Linked DNA regions of Homo sapiens: region 2 is linked to region 1. Evidence: promoter capture Hi-C in human tissues and cell types (Jung and others, 2019). All regions are on one chromosome and are shown on one strand. Each heading gives the region's core, a stretch centred on a gene start or on the middle of the fragment in contact. The rest is flanking DNA. Distances are from core to core; before and after follow the strand shown. Region 1 holds the start of OTOF (otoferlin). Region 2 overlaps SELENOI (selenoprotein I).

Region 1 (3,103 bases), core at 381-2,880:
CAGGGGAGGACCTCCAGAGAACCAAGGAAGAAGATATTTTCTGTTGTTGTTGTTGTACCTTGTAGTCACCAAGCCTTAAAAACACAGATCACCTGATGACCTCATGGATGGAAAATGCTAGTGAATTTAGGTGTTTTTTTTTTTAAGACATTAAACTTATCTAGCTTTTGAAAATTTAGCATTCATACTTGTATTCAATAAACAGAATACTCTAAGACATTTTTAAATTCAATATGATTAGATAAATGTGAGAAAGGTAAGCAAGAATTGGTTAGGAAAAAGTGCAAAGGAAAAAAACGTAAGTAGAAAAAGAAAAATAGGGCACAGTAGCAAGGAAATATCTAGAAGGAGGAAAGAAGGCTCTTGGGACATACTGTAGGTTATTTGGAATGCAGAATTCAAAAGAAGTAACCTCTTGTTACCATGCTGTGAAAAATTAGTATTTCTCTTTTTAACCTTTAGACTCTGTTTCAGGTAGATCCCTGAGCTCACTCTTTTATCCTTTCAACAGTAATTGGGCATCCTACGGTGCACAGGATACCATGTGGGGCTCTGGGGTAGAGGGATGCTGTGCTCCAGGGCCCTCCTGAGGTCAGGAGGGGAAAAGGCAAGGGAAGCAGCCCCAGGACTCAGTAAGATGAGAGGAGGCAGGAGCAGCACAGAGGAGGACCCCAACCCAGCTGGGGTGCGGGTACAGAGGCACCTCCAGGAGCAGGCACTCAAGCTGAGTCCAGGGTGGGGTGGAGGGCATTCCACCAAGAATGAATAGCAAGAACAAGGCTGCAGATGACCCTGCACAGATTCCAGCATCAGGGATTCTGGCCCCCAGCGTCCCTTTCCTTGGTGTATGCTGCTGGAAGACAGGAGGGGGCAGTTCTCTTTTGGTCCTTAGAAATTTCCCTATAGACATCCCTTCTCCTGCCCCTAGCAGCTTATAACAGCAGAAGGCCATTCAATTCTGCTCCTCTGGCTGGAAAGCAAACATCAGCCTGGCTTACCTTCGCTAGCCTGCCTGACCCCCAGCCTTGGGGTGGGGCTAGGTTAGTGCCCTGGATCCTTAAACATGGCCCCTGGTAGCACATAAGCCTCTGCTGCCTCCACAACCAGCCATCTCCATCATGCATGGCCTGGTCCTGAGCCTCCCCTCAGGCAGCAGCCCCAGCCTCTCTGCTTCCTGAGATTCAGAAACAGGGATCCCAGGGCAGGGCTCAGGGCCCAGCCTCTTGGGGGCACAGTCTCCAGCAGGGAAGAGGTGGGCGTAGGTGGACAAATACATTCCCTTCTTCTTGTAGTGTGCCCCTGTGGGTGGGAGTGCCCCCCGCCCCACATCCACCCTACCTATGCTCATGCCCACTCCTCTGTGCCCACTACTGGTGGCAGGGCTTGCTTAGCAGGGAAGCAGCAGAGCCCTGCAGAGGGGTGGGCAGAGCCTCCCTTCCAGGAGCTGGGAGAAGACACCTGAAGCTGGACAGAGCTTTATCTGGGAGCCGGCGGCTGCTGAATAATGAATTCCAACTCTGCCGCACTCCCAGGCTGCACATTGGGTGCACACACACACACACACACACGCACACACCGATACACACACGCTGGGCTGACAACTTGGAGGGGCGGGGGCTGTGAGGCTCTGTGAGTCGCTGCAGGAGCAGCTTAGCTCGGCTTGGTTGCCTTGGTCTCTGTGGGCAGCATCGGAGGGGGGTCGGGAGGAGGAGGAGGAGGCAGCGGCAGAGAAGAGAGAGGCGTGTGAGCCGTGCTCCACCGGCTAGCTCCTTCCCGCTGCTCCTGCCTGGCAGTGCCAGGCAGCCCACACCAGCATGGCCTTGCTCATCCACCTCAAGACAGTCTCGGAGCTGCGGGGCAGGGGCGACCGGATCGCCAAAGTGACTTTCCGAGGTAGGGAAGCCGCTGTCTCAGAGGGACGCCAGCTCTGAGAGCTGGACCAGCCCATGCTCTGGAGGTGGCCGGGGATAGGACAGGGCTGGGAGGATGGGTGGGAAAAGTTCTAGCAGGGGCTGGGGCGACGAGCCTTTTCACAGGTAGTCATCTGCCTGGGACTGACTGGCCATTGTGATTTCTGGAAAATCAGGGTCCCCTGTTCTTCCATGCCTGTGTCTCCTTGTGCTTGCCAACATGCCAGTTCCCCGGGCAGGGCACAGAGCCCTCTGCCTGGGGAGGCAGAAGTGAGGACCACATCCCTGAGCTCAGGGAGACCCAGGACCCCCTCCTTCTCTCTCTCTCCCTCTCCTGCAGGTTGATTTCCTTGAGCACAGGGTGGGGGCCGGGTATGGAGCCTGGGGCACCCAGGGTGACTGGGAGAAACCAGGCAGCCAGTAGCTCCCTGGGCCCCAGAGTGATGGGGGACACTGTTGGCTTCTTTTAGATCTATTCATGGGCGGGAACCCCGGGAGCCCCTCGCCTCTCTTCTGTCTGGTCTTTTCTCATCCTTTTCACTCCTGTATTCAGCGACCATTTATTATGATCTACTGTGTCCCAAGGATAGGGGTAGAAACACAGAGCTGAGCACAACCCAGCCCCAGCCCCAAGGAGCCTGCATCTGTTGGGCAGGCGTGGAACAAGCAGGACAGGTATGTGAGACAGAAGGTGGGGGTGCAGCATGCAAGCTACAGAAGCAGCACCCTCACCCAGGCTGGTGACCGGTGGTCAGGGAAGGCTTCCCGGAGGAAGTAACACTCAGCTAATACCCGAAGGACCAGCGGGTGGGAGCTAGGAGAGGAGGTAAGGACTGAGGAGGCAGAGGAAACAGTGTGCCCAGAGCTGAGAGAGGAGCTGAAACTCTGGAACTGAAAGAGGTTCCATGTGTCTACAGCTCAGAGAGGGTGCAGGAGCGGAGGCCAGAGAGCCAAGCAGGGCAAGGAGGCGAGGCTGGACCTGACCCCGGGGACAGCGGAGCCCCTGAGCATTTTAAGTGGGGAAAGGCAGGGCCAGGCTGACTCTGTCCTTCACCACCCACCTCTGCCTCTCCATGTGGTTGCTGCCCAGCCCTGAGGGTTGGGGGTACTTCTCACTAGACATGGCCCCTTCTCCCGAGAGAGGGGTCTGAGAGTGGGATGGGGACGAGGTGGTGAGAAGGGGGCAGAGAGGA
Region 2 (3,116 bases), core at 198-2,697, 170 kb after region 1:
GCTATCTGGAATGAAGTCCTGCTTCAGCTGCTATATCTCTACACAACAAATGGGGGCTCTCAAGATGCACTTTCAAGAATGGCAGACAAAACAAGAAAAAGAGTCAGCAGTACACTAAAGATCCTCAAGTATCCTGAAACAGTGAATTGCTCAATTTCACTTTCCCCTTGTTGACAGCTACTTTTCTTTCATCTAACAATGTCAATAAAACTGACTATGGCATCATTCTTTACCACCATAGGGAAACAAGTCATAAAGTACAGCACAAAACAATTTTCAAATAAATTTGATACAACCAAAAGAGGGCAGAAACACACCTTTGAAGTAAAAGGGCCCCCAAACTATAGGACGTGACCTTAAAATGTCAGAAGTAAAGGGTATTTTTACTATACTGTACAAGGTCAAGAAAGCCTGTGGTCCAAGTTTGTCATTTTATAAATATTTATCAGTTCTTTTCTTATATAATACAGATTAATCTCATTCTTGTGTACAAGGTCAACAAAACGGTAAAATAATTAGCTTAGAAATCTTAAAACAAAGCTTTTTCCCTACCCCCAATTAACATTTTATCCAGTTTAATTTTATAGATCACAAAGAACAAGGTATACAAAAAATAGTTACCGTCACTTAATTGGTTAATTCTCTGACTTCCATGATGGCAATTAACAAACATGGGATCACTATCTGCATTATTCTGCATCCATTTCTCATCTATTTCCAACGTTCATCTGTGTCTCAGAGAAAGTCACCAAATACACCTCAACCTTTACAATTTCTTAAAATGAGTATAGAACCATGAGTTAGTGCCGTGACTCATTTCTAATAACTTGAATGACAATGATTGGAATTTATAAATTTTAAAAATGAAATATCAATTACAGTTATTTTTTACAAAGCAGCAGACTGAAATTCAAGAAAGAAATACACTATAATTAAATTTAACAATGGTCACATTCATAAATAGTTATGAATTTAATTACATATCAACACAGTGGTGCCTATTTTATCCAAGTGCAGCCTGTCCAAAAAAAGGGGGTTTAAGATACACTCTTCATTCAAGCACAAACTTCATTCAGTGAAAAATAAAAGAAAATCAGCAAGTAAAGTTCACCACCACCAAATTAAATGAAGACAAAGAAATAGAAGAAAATATCCACATCATGAAAAAATATGGTTTATAGAACAACTACACTACAATTAAAGGGATTTTTATGTTTGTCAGTAAACCTCAGAAATTACTCCAAGTCATGTTAACATTAAAGGGGGCATGTACTCAGTAAGGCATATATATCAAAAGTTTTCTTCAAGTGGGGAAATGGACAAGCTGGAGAAGAGAGAACTTCTCTCTGTTTTATCTCGTATGAAATAAGAAACACAGCACCTCACCCTGAAAAAAGAAGAGAGGGGAAGGACAGACAGACAGACAAACTGAATCAAAAAATTAATTTTGGTCATAGTGAGGTTCATGAAATTCCTAACTCCAATTTATATTTATCTTACAAGGTACTTTTATCTGCATTCCTCCTAAGTCATTACCATAGGACTGGGACTGTCACATGCATTCCTACAATCAGAGCTCACAGGCACCAAATCTCAGGAACCTGCAGCTGAAGGGGGGAAAATGCCATATTTAAACAATGAACCATCCCAATGGGTGAGCGATAATTACAACCCATTCTCAAATTCTCAACTGATTATTTCTCTTTAGGAGAAAATTAAACCATCTATCAAGATCTGTTCCATAATAAAGAGAGCTAGAATATTAGCTAAATGTATTAGCTCTCTTATCATTTGAGAACAAAAGCCATTTTCAGGGGAAAGAGAAACCAGTATTTGGCAACTGTCTGTTGTTTGGTAATCATTGGCATCTCTTGGTGAAGGTGACTTATTTTTATCCTTTCCCTATACTAGGTTTGGACTACTGCTACTCCCGCTATTACAAAGTTCCAAATATGAAAACACACTGTGGTTTTCTGAGTGTTATCAGTGTTCTGAAACCAATTTTGGTACTTAAAAAATAAAAACAAAGCATCTTTAACCCTGCATGAATCACAACATTGTAAACTCACGAAGTTAGAACCATTAGGAACATTTTGCTGGTCTAACGTACATTCTGCTCAACCAAAATGTCACATAGTTTTATAAAAAATAAAATAGGCTTAGAGTTAGTAGGTCCAAAATTTCCCAAGTTCAGATTATATGTATCATTCCTGCTGTCCAAGTACCATACTGAGATCCCACGTCTGTCAAGCAGATCAGTCTAGTTCAATGGTGATGGAGGAAATATTTACAAGCATTTATTTACAGTACTTCTTTGTGCCCAAAGAAAGATTATTACAGGCCAATATTCTTTTCTTCCATTCCTAGTCAATCTGAGTTTGGTTTCCTCAATGAGAAGGGGTAAATCTGAAAATGGCTGCTCAGCTGCTTTACCTATGAAAAATCAGAACATGAGACAGTGACAAATATGTACCTTATTGTTTTTTAAAAGCACACAGAATTTACCCCCTAGAGATAACAATTTATTGACACGGCAAAAATCATGAGAAATACTGAAAAGGTTTTTCTGGATTAGGATAGCTATAGAACTAGACAGCTAAATGGAAGTACTAGAACTAACATGGGAAAGTTAGGACTTAGAACTAAAATCTAGTCTTGAGAACCCTCCAGAGCACTCAAATTCACATCCAAATCTGAAAAACTATAGGATTAGTTGACCTGTAGCATCTAGATCAAGTAATCATATTTATAGTTAGACTCTATATTCAGCTTGCTAAACATTTCTAAGTAATCATTCCTAATCCCGATGAAATAGTACAAAACTAGATCTATGAATTTGGAGAGGCCTTATTAGTTAGGGTATCTCTAGTGGGAAGGCAAGAGCTTAGTTATAGGTCAGCGAGTGCATGTCATTTACTTGATACTTATTATTTACATTTCAGCAGTTCAAGTGAATGTTTTGTGTGGCCTAGCAAGTTTTAACTTCTGGCCAGAAGTTGTAGATGTGGTAAAAGAACACAAAGACAGATAAAAAAGATGATCCTAAATTGTTTTCCAGTTAGCGTGTTATTTATTTTCCAGGTTTTTAACAATGAAAATGTAGTACCTTTATCATT

What was found. The method cuts DNA at HindIII sites, captures the fragments that hold promoters and counts their contacts. A contact is called where the count stands out against the background at its distance.
Region 2: a fragment that was not itself captured here is called in contact with the fragment with the promoter of OTOF in region 1 in 2 of the 25 tissues and cell types used here (mesenchymal stem cells and mesendoderm cells).

Annotation. Positions count from the first base shown.
Region 1 is chr2:26,557,283-26,560,385 of GRCh38, reverse strand. OTOF (otoferlin) reads left to right here and starts at 1,630. Exons shown (of 47, transcript NM_194248.3): 1 at 1,630-1,893. The coding sequence starts at 1,815. RefSeq lists enhancers at 683-1,475, 1,476-2,269. The HindIII fragment of the contact is 11,571 bases long and covers 1-3,103 here.
Region 2 is chr2:26,388,322-26,391,437 of GRCh38, reverse strand. SELENOI (selenoprotein I) reads right to left here. Exons shown (of 10, transcript NM_033505.4): 10 at 1-2,433. The coding sequence ends at 2,335. Among named protein-coding and RNA genes, the nearest start is that of DRC1, 12 kb to the left of the region's middle. The HindIII fragment of the contact is 3,586 bases long and covers 1-3,116 here.